Linked DNA regions of Homo sapiens: all the other regions are linked to region 5. The links are contacts of gene promoters, found by promoter capture Hi-C in blood cells and fetal thymus (Javierre and others, 2016). All regions are on one chromosome and are shown on one strand. The core of a region is centred on a gene start or on the middle of the fragment in contact, and the rest is flanking DNA. Distances in the headings are between cores, read along the strand shown. Region 1 overlaps BTBD9 (BTB domain containing 9). Region 2 holds the start of BTBD9 (BTB domain containing 9). Region 3 holds the start of DNAH8 (dynein axonemal heavy chain 8). Region 4 overlaps BTBD9 (BTB domain containing 9). Region 5 holds the start of CCDC167 (coiled-coil domain containing 167).

Evidence for each region. The method cuts DNA at HindIII sites, captures the fragments that hold promoters and counts their contacts. A CHiCAGO score of 5 or more calls a contact.
Region 1: a fragment that was not itself captured here is called in contact with the fragment with the promoter of CCDC167 in region 5 in 1 of 17 cell types (total B cells); the score reaches 6.9 in total B cells.
Region 2: a contact is called between the fragment with the promoter of BTBD9 here and the fragment with the promoter of CCDC167 in region 5, in 1 of 17 cell types (total B cells). The highest score is 8.5, in total B cells.
Region 3: a contact is called between the fragment with the promoter of DNAH8 here and the fragment with the promoter of CCDC167 in region 5, in 1 of 17 cell types (naive B cells). The highest score is 6.6, in naive B cells.
Region 4: a fragment that was not itself captured here is called in contact with the fragment with the promoter of CCDC167 in region 5 in 2 of 17 cell types (total B cells and naive B cells); the score reaches 6.7 in total B cells.

Annotation. Positions count from the first base shown.
Region 1 is chr6:38,579,702-38,582,401 of GRCh38, reverse strand. BTBD9 (BTB domain containing 9) reads left to right here. Exons shown (of 11, transcript NM_001099272.2): 5 at 1,965-2,184. Among named protein-coding and RNA genes, the nearest start is that of BTBD9, 59 kb to the left of the region's middle. The HindIII fragment of the contact is 3,488 bases long and covers 1-2,700 here.
Region 2 is chr6:38,638,512-38,641,211 of GRCh38, reverse strand. BTBD9 (BTB domain containing 9) reads left to right here and starts at 1,283. Exons shown (of 11, transcript NM_001099272.2): 1 at 1,283-1,412. It overlaps LOC105375044 (a long non-coding RNA gene), which reads right to left and starts at 817. Exons shown (of 3, transcript XR_926767.4): 1 at 728-817. RefSeq lists enhancers at 941-1,020, 821-1,321 and a silencer at 1,421-1,620. The HindIII fragment of the contact is 9,229 bases long and covers 240-2,700 here.
Region 3 is chr6:38,714,061-38,716,760 of GRCh38, reverse strand. DNAH8 (dynein axonemal heavy chain 8) reads right to left here and starts at 1,450. Exons shown (of 93, transcript NM_001206927.2): 1 at 1,346-1,450. DNAH8-DT (DNAH8 divergent transcript) reads left to right here and starts at 1,546. Exons shown (of 2, transcript NR_186581.1): 1 at 1,546-1,695; 2 at 2,463-2,591. RefSeq lists a silencer at 1,414-1,463. The HindIII fragment of the contact is 3,077 bases long and covers 1-2,071 here.
Region 4 is chr6:38,554,926-38,557,625 of GRCh38, reverse strand. The region is part of intron 6 of BTBD9 (BTB domain containing 9); the gene reads left to right. Among named protein-coding and RNA genes, the nearest start is that of BTBD9-AS1, 75 kb to the right of the region's middle. The HindIII fragment of the contact is 2,930 bases long and covers 1-2,700 here.
Region 5 is chr6:37,498,622-37,501,321 of GRCh38, reverse strand. CCDC167 (coiled-coil domain containing 167) reads left to right here and starts at 1,429. Exons shown (of 4, transcript NM_138493.3): 1 at 1,429-1,500. The coding sequence starts at 1,459. RefSeq lists an enhancer at 1,237-1,436. The HindIII fragment of the contact is 3,379 bases long and covers 1-1,990 here.

The sequences.
Region 1 (2,700 bases), core at 195-2,694, 1.1 Mb before region 5:
GTACTGTACTCAAAGGATTATTATGAGGAGTAAGTCAAAGGAATTAATATTTGCAAAGTGCTTAGGACAGTGTCTAGCACGTCATGTATTATAGAAGATTTGTTAAATAGGAAGAATATGGGTGATTATCACACGCTAATAGAATTTAGAAAGTTATAAATCGATAGCACTTAAACTTCTGATGGTAAGAAGTTAAGCATAACTAGGATGTTTTGTTTATTTTTGCTGGGTTGCTACAGTCTTTTGCTTCCATTTTAAACTTCCATTTTTCAGCTGCAATATATTGTTCTTTTCTGGTGCCACTCTCTTTACTCATCTTCATTTGAAATTAAAAAAAATTTTTCCAGAAATCTGCAATGATGAATTACTATCTTTTTGCCAATAACCTGATTATAGCCCAGACTTTCCCGTATTCAAATCACACAACCAAAATGTATGTGTACTGTGAGAATTCGGTATTTTTTTACAGTCTGTAAACATACATAGTTCTCTTATCGTGTGCTTTTTAATATGTTTTCTTAATAGTAATGGCTGTATATTTTGAAAATATATGTATATATGAGTAGAGCTCATAATATGCTTTACAAACATCATCTCATTTAATTCTTAAACAGAAACACCTGGGGGATAGATATGGTCTCCCCCCCACCCCATTGAGAAATGGAAGTTGAGAGAGGGAAACTTCTTCAAAGTGATGCACCTGGCTAAATGTGGAGCCACTGTTTAATCTCTGACTCTTCAAGCTCTTAATATCTTTCTGCAGCCTCTTGTCTTTCCATGGAGAGTGTCAGTTTTAGAATGTTAGTACCTGGAAGATAGGTTCCACATCTGTGAAGCATAATTTACACGGAGGACTTCAGAGTCCCAGGCACAATTGGTGGTTAATAAATCTAATGTTGGTGAGGGGAGGGGATTTAATAATAACCATAATACTGATTTTGATGACAGACTATCAATTTTCATTTTTAAAAATTCTCAAGTGCAGAAAAAAGATATCTTTTTTAAACGATCTTGTTTTATAAGCTAGATTAATTAATTTCAGCATATTCATATATAACTAACAGCTATGCTATATTGGAACCTTTCTTTTTCTGTTGTTTTAACAGATTTCTGACCTGTTTGCTTTGCTTTTATACATTGTCCTCAGTCCAGATGGCAGGTACAGGTCATCTTACATGCTATTTTTGTTTAGTAGATTTTTTTGTTGTTGAGACGGAGATTTACTCTTGTTGCCCAGGCTAGAGTGCAATGGCGCGATCTCAGCTCATCGCATCCTCTGCCTCCCAGGTTCAAGTGATTCTCCTGCCTCAGCCTCCCGAGTAGCTGGGATTATAGGCATGTGCCACCACGCCTGGCTAATTTTGTATTGTTAGTTGAGACGGGGTTTTACTGTGTTGCCCAGGCTGATCTCGAACTCCTGACCTCAGGTGATCCGCCCACCTCGGCCTCCCAAAGTGCTGGGATTACAGGCATGAGCCACTGCACCCCGCCTGTTTAGTAGATATTAAAGTTACTAGTAGAATGAACTCAGCAGAGCTGATTTGTTTGTCCTAGTACATGCCTTTTCTAGTTTTATTAACTTTTGAAAAATAACATTAGTCTCAAGCACTTTGTGGTTGTGATACTAATATTACATTTAAACTCTGAACATTTTTTTTGTTTGTTTTTAATAGGGACAGGGTCTTCCCATGTTGCCCATGCTGGTCTCAAACTCCTGGGCTCAAGTGATCCACCTGCCTCGGCCTCCCAAAGTGCTGGGATTACAGGCATGAGCCACTGCACCCGGCCTCTGAATGGTGTCTTAATCCTCATAGATGTTCTGTATTTTCTATCCAATAAACTTGTCTATGCTGTTCTTAAATGCAGATACTAGAATAAACTGGAATGCTAGAATTGTATTTTTTTCAAAAAATACAGAATAAATAAGTAATCATTAACCTTGCTTTTTCTATTTTTAACTGTAGTACCAGAAGAAAACATTGCAACTATGAAGTATGGAGCCCAAGTTGTAAAGGGGGAGCTGAAATCAGCCTTATTAGATGGTGATACTCAAAATTATGATTTGGATCATGGATTTTCAAGGCACCCAATTGATGATGACTGCCGTTCCGGCATCGAGATTAAGCTAGGTCAGCCATCCATTATCAATCACATACGGATACTCTTGTGGGACCGAGATAGCCGGTAAGTGATTAGCATGACTTAGAAACTGACATTATGTTTGAGATGACTTAGCTTTGTGGTCATCTACTTTTGTTTTACAGATATGATGGTTTATTTCTTTGTGATCATTCTGCTATCTCTTGAAGGTTGGTTTTGGGGAAGGAGTTAAAGGATATATTTCTTTAAAAGAAATACACTTTTTTGTTTGTTTCTTCTTATAAAAATATGTGTTTATTGTAGAAACCATAGAAAATATAGAAGAGCACATAGAAGAAAATAAAAATTGCTAGTAATCTCATTACCCATTATTAATCTTCATATGTATCTAGCATTTTTTTCAATTATGCATGGACACATACACACACAAAACAGAAACCTGCACAAACATAGTTTTATAAAATGAAGATTAGATATACAAAAAGCTAATTTTACTTTTAAATTAATACATTGTGAACACTCTACCCTTTAAAAAATATTCCTCTAAAATGTATTTTTAATAGTCGTTTTGTATTCTACCATGAGTTAACATTATTTACT
Region 2 (2,700 bases), core at 34-2,533, 1.1 Mb before region 5:
CTGTCTACCTCAGCACTCATGCTAGAAACCTGGCCTACTCATTTATCCGCACTCAGTGCTGTGAATTCTACCACCTTAATGGCGCTAACATCTATCCCCTCCTCTATTCCCACTGCCAATGCCTTGTTTAATGTTCTTATCACTTGTCTGGAGTACTGCAATGGCCTAAAAATGGGTCTCCCTGCCCCAAGCCTTGCTTTTCCTGACCATTTTCACTTTCTACTTTTACTCATGAAGCTTCCTTTGCCCGGAATTAAGTCCTTCCCAATTTGTCTCCTCCAACAACTGCAAGGGCGGTCCCCTAGCTTGCTCCAGCGTCGGGGATAACTGACTTTCCTACACCAGCTACAGTCAGACCTGCACCCGGATTTCTAGGACTCTTATCTATGTAGATAGATAAATACATTTTTTTGAGACAGTGTCTTGCTCTCACTGCAGAGGCTGGAGTGCAGCGGCGCGATCACGGTTCACTGCAATCTTGAACTCCCCAGGTTCAAGCGATCCTCCCACCTCAGCCCCCCGAGCATTTGTGACTACAGGCGCGCGCCAACATGCCCATTTAGTTTTTGTCTTTTTTGTAGAGACGGGGTTTCACTATGTTACCCAGGCTGGTGTCGAACTCCTGAGCTCAAGCGATCCGCCCACCTCGGCCTCCCAAAGTGCTGGGATTACAGGCTTGAGCCACCAAGTCAAATGGGCTTTATACTTACAAAGTACCTTTGCATACCTTATTTCATTTTCACCTCACAATTCTCCAGCGTAGGCTGGACCGGTATTATTATGCCCATTTACTGAGAGAGGAAACTGAGAGTCAAGGCTGGGCCAGTCACACCCTGCTGCGAAATTAACGAGCATCACTTAGCAGCCTCGACATTAACCGCGCTCGCGCTCTCATCCCTTTCTGGTCCTACTCCTTGGAGAACCTTCCTGCACCTCCAAGAACTTGCCGATCGGGTCTGCGGCGGTCTGGACGAGGTCACTCCACAGGCGCCCAGGACCTTCTCATCCGTAGTGACGTGCGCCGGTGACGCCATACAGTGACGTGTGGTGACTCGACTTACCCGGAGCCAGGTGCCGGCAGGGCAGCCACACCCTGGGGCCCCCTGTTCTGGAGGGGCAGAGGGTCGGGCCGATGCGAAAAAGCCGCGGAAGCTGCCTTAGGCGACTTTCTGGGCCTGCATCGCCGGACCCAGCAGCCCGCTGTCGATCGGTTGCTAAGTGACGCCAGCGCGCAGTGGCGCGTGCGCGGCCACGGCGGAGTGCGTGAAAGCGGACGCGCGCCGCAGCAGCCGGGGCGGCGGCGAGGACGGCGGCCACGGAAGCGGCCAAGGGGGCGGTGGCGCAGAGAGGGGTGCGGAGCGGGCGGAAGAGGCGTCTGTGTCGCAGCTTGGTCTCAGAGGAGCATCGCTGGGGTGAGTAGCCGGGTCCTTGCAGGGGAGGTGGGGCCTGGCCGCACCTGCGGCGCGGGGACGCGCGCCCCCGCCGTATCCGCGCGCACCGCCCCCCGCCCCTCCGCCGCTTTTTCCGGGGGCGGGGGAGGAGCTGGGACGGGGCCTGACGAGGGTCATTTCTTGGGCCCGGGTGCTCTGGGAGAGCGGTAGCCGTCCCGTTCGCAGTCCACGAAGGTGTAGTGGGAAGTAGACGTTTCGGGGATTCGGGGTGGCTCTACCAGCCTCCCAAAGAGAGGAGTTCGAATCAGGGGCAGCCCAGGTTCCCTAGCAGTCTCGTATCCTGTCTGAGACGACGTTGCCTGGGACTGAGGAGGCGAAACCCGGGACCCCGGGGTGGGGGTTTGGAAAGTTTGGGACTGCTGGGGCCCTCATCTCCCCTGCCCTGGCCAGCCTCTGAGTAGGAGCTGGTTGTTATGGAGAGAGTTGTGAATCAGTGCCTGCGTGCGGCATCAGACACACCCACGACCTTGGGAGGGCGACCTGTCAGTATAGATCCGGGGCAGCCAACCTGTTGCCTAGAGTTTCTAACTTCACATGTATGTGCATGTGTTTCCTTGGCGTTTTAGTACATTGTTGTTACAGATTTTGAGACCAAGGTGCTGATAGGCATCCTCATTTCTTACTTCCTCATAGACTTAGTTATCTTGCTATATTTCCCAGAACCGTGTTGTGCTTTTGTCATTAGTAGATCCAAGGAAGTATGGAAGCATGTTTTGTTTGTTTTTCCTAAAGGCAGTACAGGCTGCTATTTTCTGGGCAGAAAATACGGATTCTGTTCACTGTGTGGGCGGAAAGTGTTGATGATGGGAGAACCCAGCATGTAAAGGTGTAGCTCATCCTCAGCCCTGTGCTGTCTTCTCAGTGCTCTGGACTCTATCATGGGTAGATGTATAGGGGTTGTGGTTACCATACTTGGGAGCGAGGAATATTGGAGACAGGGAAGAAGCCAGTCTTTTCTTTCTGTTGATTAAGGCAATTTGTAGAACCAGTGAAAAGATAGGCTGTACTGAAATCTAATGTTTTGTGTAAGAGGATAGAGGAAAATAAGTTCAAGGTTCTCATTTAGGTCTAAAATTCTATGATTCTGTTTCATAACTGAGAATCTGTAAAGTATGTTACCTCTTGGAACCAGTAATAACCTTGCTTTGTAACACTTATTAGATTACTCGGAATTCAAAGTGTCTTCCTCCCTCCACTGTAATAGCTTTTAGGACAGGAGTCATCTGTGTTTTCCTCCTTGCCCTATGTC
Region 3 (2,700 bases), core at 201-2,700, 1.2 Mb before region 5:
ATGCATTAGTTCATTCAGCAATATTGAACGTCTTCTGCATGTCTGGCCACTGTGGCTACATAAAAGACTAAGGACTTCTCCAAAGCAAAATGCACAATCAAATTGGTGTGACAGACTATTGAATACAACACAAGATGGTCAATGTCAATGACAGGTGAATTAACGAAGGGCTAAGAGAGCTTAGCAGGCAGCAAAACTTCTGAAAAACAAAAAAAGAAAGAAAGAAAACTTGACGGAGAAGGTACCACCCGAGTCGGGTCTAAAGAAGAGTTGTCAGGAGAGGATGGGAGAGAGAAACATTATAGGCAGAAGGTGGGAACAGTGGCGTACAAAAGCAGAGAAGCAAAAAGAGGCACAACTATCTTGGGAAAAGTGGTAAATTCAGTGATGAGACTTTTGGGCTAGAGGGGAATGAGAAGGGTAGAGGAACGGGAAATAAGCCGGAGGGAGAGGCATTTTTTTTGTTTTATTTTTGAATTTTTAAAAATATATAGGTATATGGCCGGGCGTGGTGGCTCATGCCTGTAATCCCAGCACTTTGGGAGGCCGAGGTGGGCGGATCACAAGGTCAGGAGATCGAGACCATCTTGGCTAACACTGTGAAACCCCGTCTCCACTGAAAATACCAAAAAAAATTAGCCGGGCGTGATGGCGGGTGCCTGTAGCCCCAGCTACTCGGGAGGCTGAGGCAGGAGAATGGCTTGAACCAGGGAGGCAGAAATTGCAGTGAGCCGAGATCGCACCACTGCACTCCAGCCTGGGCGGCAGAGTGAGACTCCGTCTCAAAAAAAAAAAAAAAATATATATATATATATATATATATATATATATATATTTATTTATTTATTTATTTATTTTAATAGCTTTTCGGGTACAGGTGGTTTTTTTACATGGATGCATTGGATAGTGGTGAAGTCTGAGACTTCAGGGTCATCCAGGTAGCATACATTGCAAGCGATATGTAGTTGTTTCATCCCTCACCCCCCTCCCACCCTTCCCCTTCTGAGTCTCCGAAGTCCACTATACCCCTCTGGATGCCTTTGCGTAGCAATAGCTTAGCTCCTACTCATAGGTGAGAACGTGCGGTATTTGGTTTTCTAGTCTCAAAACGGGGAGTGGGTGTGAAGTCACTTAGATGTCCAGTGTAGAGACTGACAAAGGGTAGTGACTCAGCTGGGGTTTTGAAGCAGGGGTTCCCTGGGTTCAACTAACAGAGGTGGAGGACTGAACTGTAGCGTGGATTCCAGTCCCCTAAAAAGAAGGAAAGTGGGCGGGGAACCCGGCTGCATCAGGGCCTCCCGGACAGGGGCCGGGCGCTCACAGCGCGCTCCGACCAAGTACTCACCAGCCGCTCTCTGGGCCCCGATGCCCCGACCACTCAGCCCACTGAGGCCGGCCCCAGCGGTTGCGCTGCCCCGGGGGAGCTGCTCCGGCCTCCGCGGCCCGGAACGAGGCTGACGGTTGGGAGTCCGAGACAGGCTCGCTCGGGGGCGAGGGCTCCGCAGTGCGCAGCTCCCTACGGGGAGCGACTGGAGGGGCACGGGCAGCCCCCGCGCTCCCCAATAAAGGATGCACCCACCGAGCCCGAGGACTGAAACATTGTTTAGGGGACCCCAGGCACTGAAGGGCGGGTTCCTGGAGATGGACATTTGGAGTGCGGTGCCAGGGGCTTGGGAGGATTCCCGCGTATACGTGGTAATACGGAAATATATAAAATAATGTTTTCTATGACCTTTACAGTTTCTGAAGTTACTTAGTGTTTTCCTTGAGAACCTAAAAAGTGTTTCCTGGTGAGTCAGTGTGTTCAGAAACCTGTGACTGATGAGAGAGAAAGATTCTGGGGGAAAACTGACTTCTCTCCCAAGTCCACCCCCTCCCCTCTCTAGTACGGTTCTGCTTTTGCTGTGACTGCCTGACATGATGTGAGCGGTCCGTTTTTAGTTGGGTGTGTTAACCAAAGAAAAAAAAATCAGTCATTTAAATAATTAATATTAGTTTTATTCAGATGTCTTACTAAGGATTGCAATCCGGAGAGTCTTTCAGAGACTTTCTGTGAGACTGCTCCAAAGCTTAGGTACAGGTGGTGGCATGTGATGGGAAGTGGCATCAGATGTGCTCAGCAGTTACATCAAATGAGCTCAGCAGTTACATTAGAGCAAAATCTCATCAAGGGTGGGGTTCAAGGGTACATCTGGTTATAGATTGTAGAGGCATAATCATTAATCCTATCAGCTATTATCTTATTATGTACAGGAAGAGGCATGAGTTAGGATCCTGGAACTTTTGCAAGAAAAGATTCATGCAAGAGATGTTATCATCTTCAGGGGCATTCTTCCAGGGGCTGCACTTAGTCACTGAGTTAGGGGATTTGTGAAATGTAGCTGCCAAAGAATTCTCTGACATTCTGCTGGCAAGCAGAATGAGCAAATATAGCTTCTTACATAAACTATTTTGTCTTACAGGTGTGAAAGTCAGTCTTTGAATGTAGAGCAGATCAATGTGGAATGAGGACTGAAAGGTCTGTCAACTGAAAAAAAAAACAAGAATGAATATAAAAAATCACAAATTAAATAAACCATGGTCCATCCATATTAATAGACATTACTCAGTGATTATACAATATAAGCTTATGGGAGCAAGGGAGTTCCTGAATATCCTTGCTGACTGTGCCGAAATGCAAGACCTACCTACCCTCTAACT
Region 4 (2,700 bases), core at 118-2,617, 1.1 Mb before region 5:
TGTCATAATGCCTGGAAGAAGGAGGAAAATTATTTATTAGCTAAGATATGGTTTATAACATAGGTAAGGCCCACAATTTTCCAGACACTGAGTATTTCATTTGGTCTTACCCAGGAAATAAGTATTATTGTCCAACTATTGTATTTCACAAATGAGGAAACTGAGGCTTAGAGAGCATATTGAACTTATAATCACACAGCTAGAACATAACCGCTGGGACTGAAGCTGAGGTCTGTCTGACTCTAAAGGTCTTTTTATTATTTATTTATTTATTTATTTTGAGACTGAGTCTTGCTCTTGTCGCCCAGGCTGGAGTGCAATGGCACGATCTTGGCTCACTGCAGCCTCTGCCTCCGGGGTGAAGTGATTCTCCTGCCTCAGCCTCCTGAGTAGCTGGGATTGCAGGCGCCTGCCACCACTGCCAGCTAATTATTGTATTTTTAGTAGAGACGGGGTTTTGCCATGTTGGCCAGACTGTTCTCAAACTCCCAATCTCATGATCTGCCCACCGTGGCCTCCCAAAGTGCTGGGATTACAGATGTGAGGATGTGAGCCACCGTGCCTGGCCCTTTTTTTTTTTTTTTTTTTTTTTTTTTTTTTTTTTTTTTTTGGTGAGATGGAGTCTCGCTCTGTTCCCCAAGCTGGAGTGCAATGGCCCGATCTCGGGTCACTGCAACCACCACCTCCCAGGTTCTAGCGATTCTCTTGCCTCAGCCTCCCAAGTAGCTGGAATTACAGGCGCCACTACATCTGGCTAATTTTTGTATTTTTAGTAGAGACGGGTTTTCACCATGTTGGTCAGGCTGATCTCGAACTCCTGACCTCAGGTGATCCACCCGCCTCGGCCTCCTAAAGTGCTGGGATTACAGGCATGATCCACCGCGCCCGGCCGAAGGTCTTTTTAAACACACAGTGCTGTCTTTTTCATCTCTGTTTATCATCTTGTGGTATTATCTTTTTTTGTGTGTGAGGCTTCAAAGATTAAAAAAAAATGTTTTATTTTGGACTTTGGATTCTGAAGTAATAACTTTTACTCCTGGGTGATCAAATCTCTCTCTCTCTCTCTCTCTCTCTCACACACACACACACACACACACACACACACACACACACACACACTTTATAGGACAAAGATAATATCCATATGCTTGCTATATATCTCTTAATCTTCTAAAAGCATTTGCCATTTGACTTTCCAGACCCCTTAGTAGGTCTGGAATCTGGCAGTTGTCAGATATACATTTGAATGCTTAAATTAATAAATCAAGATTTTAATTTTGCTGTTATAGTTAGTGAATGGTGCCAGATTGAAATCATTTTCATGATCAAATAGTGGGATGCATACTAGTTATCATTTTATTTAGTCTATTTATACTATGATGATAGGCCATGCAGACAGGAAACATTAAAATGTAGAATGTTAGGATGTACCTTGGGATGTGCTTCTAGTTCCCTGAGAAACCTTTCTAGTTCCCAAAGACAGGCATTTCCATGATGACTGTGGCCTTTCGTATATGATGCCCTTGTTAGCTGAATATTCATTACCTCGAGCCTTGCAGTTTTGAAGGTTGCATAGGGAAACAGAAGTAATCATAGTATAAAAATGTTCACTAATGAACTGTCCACGTGTAAAATTAGTTCCCACTCAAACATTCATCCCTGTGAATTCTATTCCTGCCCATCCCATTAGTTATAGTGTTTTACTGATTGTTCGGAAGATGTAAAATCAGTGTACTCAATTGCAAAGTCAGATGGCAGATTTTGCAAAAATACAAGAAATAAAGATTTCATGAAATAGAGAAAAGTGAGGTTGAAAAGCTGCCAGACTGACATACGAAGCCATTGGCAAATAAAATTCTGGCAGCATGAGACCAGTGAATAATTGAGAAAGAGAAAATCCACCAAAATGATGACATGGTAAGCATTTCAAAAGAAGAATCTGACAATTAAAAATTAAAGGAATGTTGGTGATGTCCAGGTATTTTTGGAAGAATATTCTTCACTGTAATTGTGCTGGGGAAGTTAGGAAATGCTAGAAAAACTAAAAGATATCTAACAACTGTTTATCACTACTACTGCTACTACTACTATTTTGGTTAGCACATAGTTGCATTTATTACATACGTTTTGTTAAGTAGAAGATTAAATATATACTTACATTTAATCTCAATTTTTAATGTAATGAAACCCCTTTTCCACATTCACTATGGAATTTTGGTCGTTATTTCAAGTGAATTCACTTTAAATGTCCTTTTTCAGGTAATTGTTGTTCTGGAATAATGAGAACCTCCTGTAATGGGTTATATACTTGTCTTTATGTGTCTGTGTGTCTTCCCTCTCCAGTTTTGCTGGTAACGAACAGCAGCAACAAACACAGGCAAGGAGAGTTAGAGATGGGGTGAGTCATCCTTAGTAAAATTGTCTTTTAACCAGTGAGGCAAAGAAACAGAACCTTGATGAGCAATAATCTATTCTAGAAGAGTAGCTAATCAGCAGATTATACTTTTATCTTGGAGAAAGGACTGCAGGTCACTCATTAAATCAAAAGGCATTACATAAATAAAGATTTCCAGTTTGGGGGTACTGGAGGGGACTGTAGCAATATTGTTTTTGAAGTCTTTGTTTCTCTTTAGTAGCATCACCCATAGCTTTGATGTTACTCACACTCTAAGATGAATACATTTTGGAGCTTCCTAATCC
Region 5 (2,700 bases), core at 180-2,679:
TCTAGCTAGACAATTGTAAACGCACCAATCAGCGTTCTGTGTCTAGCTAAAGGATTGTAAATGCGCCAATCAGCACTCTGTAAAAACCCACCAATCAGCGCTCTGTGTCTAGCTAAAGGATTATAATGCACCAATAAGCACTCTGTGTCTACCTAGGGATTGTAAATGCACCAGTCAGTGCTCTGTAAAAACGCACCAATCAGCGCTCTGTGTCTAGCTAAAGGATTGTAAATGCACCAATCTGCACTCTGTAAAAATGCACCAATCAGCACTCTGTGTCTAGCTAAAGGACTGTAAATGCACCAATCAGCACTCTGTAAAATGGACCAGTCAGTGCTCTGTAACAGGGGACAAATAAGGGAATAAAAGCTGGCCATCCCCCAGTCAACAGTGGCAACCCACTCAGGTCCCCTTCCATGATGTGGGAGCTTTGTTCTTTTGCTCTTCACAATAAATCCTGCTGCTGCTCACTCTCTGGGTCCGTGCTACCTTTAAGAGCTGTAACACTCACCGTGAAGTCAGTGAGACCAAGAACCCACCTGAAGGAACCAACTCCAGACACAGGATTACAGGCCTGAGCCACCGTGCCCGACTTTGTTTTTTTTTAATTAAATAGGCAAGAATACAAAATAACAGAGTGCATTACAGGAGGTAAAGGTACTTACTGTGAAACTTTGGTTTTGGTTTCATGGGTAACTGGGCCATGGTATAAAATACATTTTTTTATCGTAGGGTCACAGTCAAAACATTTCAAAGGCCGTGGGTCTATGGTGTACAGTATAGTACGATTACAACAATGTAAAATACTGTGTGTGAGGCCAAGCCTGGGAGGAATAAACAGAAGCAAAGAGGAACTGATAAAGTTGGTAGAATAAAGGATGCTGCTTCTCAGTTATATGTTTTCTGTGATGTTTGTAGGTTGTTCTTACAATAAAACAAACCAAAAAAAAAAAAAAAAAGAAGTCAAGACACAAAGGAGAAATAACAATAGAGGGCCATTATCAGATTCCATTGGCCGAGAAGCTCAAGGCTCCAGCACCGGCCTTGAAGGATGGACAGACTTTGAATGGGGGGCGTGGCCTAAACAGGGACGGGGTTGTTGCTGAAACACAAAACACACTGAAAGAGAACATGGGGTTAAAAAAGGCTCTCAGTGATGCAAAGCGGCTTAAAACTGGGGAAGAAAGGGGCAGGTCTACTCCCGGGCTGTACATTCTGCCTCCCTGTACCGACTTTTCCACCCTCCACCCATCTAGGCTGAGGTCTCAAGCTAGAGGTTGCCCCTCATAAACATGTCCGCACCAAGCCGGCCGCGCCCCTCAACAAGATGGCGACGGCAGCAGCCCCACCTCCCGCTGACTCGGTGGCCAATGAGGGAGAAGCACGAAGACTTGAGCATGCGCACATAGCGACTTGGTGGGCGCGTCCAGTGATGACTGGGGGATCCCGGCAAGTAACATGACTAAAAAGAAGCGGGAGAATCTGGGCGTCGCTCTAGAGGTGAGGGGAAAAGTGGGGGTTGGGCCACCTCGTTAGTTGCCTTCTCCTGGCCGCGGGATAAGGGATAGGCTGGGCTATAGATAGGAGGAGGAGCCAAGCGTAGGATGAGAGGGCGACGCGGTTTGGGGAGAGGGACGGGAGGGGTGAGAAGGCCCACGGGGTTCCCGGAGGACAGGGAGCCCGAGGAGGTGCCGGATGGGCGAACCAGACTCTCTGGAGAGGGCATCTCCAGAGAGGAAGAGACATGGAAGTGAAGGGGAGCCCCAAAGACGGCCTGGCATAGAAGTGAGGGAACTCAAAGCGGGGGACACAGAACAAAAGGGATGGGTACAGAGGTGAGGGAGACCCCAGAGAAATAGGGACCTGTAGAATCTAAGGAGAACTCCCAAAGGGCTAGGACTCAAAGATGAGGGAGCCCATTCTGGTGTATATTATTAATGGTTTAAATATCCTCTAAAAGGGGAAATTTTTCCTCCGGAGTATGGAAGCTTGTACCTTCAAAATTACTTTGGGAATATGTAAAGAGAATTCTGGAATTGGTGATGTCACTGAATGGCTTAAAAATAATTTGCTGCATATAGAAGGGAAAGAAAACATACATACTGAGCAACCGCTATGTGCTACTTTCATTGCATTGTTAATCCTCACTGCAAGCCTGTGAGGTTTGTACAGATGAGGAAATTGAGGTTCCAGGTGGAACCCAGGCTGAGATGGTGGAAGTGGTGGAGCCTGGGAATCAAGCACAGGTGGTCTTCCTGGAAATTCATCTTGCTTCCCCTGTTTTCCTTCCCTTAGGGCATCCTCCCGGAGGTTGCAGGAGAGGTACAGGGTCATAGTCTTCTTCAGGCTTACTAGTGAGTTCAGTGATTCTCAAACTTTAGCATGCATAGAGTCACAGGGCTTGTTAAAAATGGAGAGTTGAACTCTTCCCACACCCCGAGTAATTCAGTAGGACTTTGATGTGCATTCTTAACAAGGAATCTGCTTTTTTTTTTTTAAGACAGAGTCTCGCTCTGTTGTCCAGGCTGAAGTGCAGTGGCGTGATCTCGGCTCACTGTAAACTCTGCCTTCTGGGTTCAAGCGATTCTCGTGCCTCAGCCTCCCGAGTAGCTGGGATTACAGGCACGTGCCACCATGCCTGGCTAATTTTTGTATTTTTGTAGAGACGGGGTTTCACCGTGTTGGCCAGGCTGGTCTTGA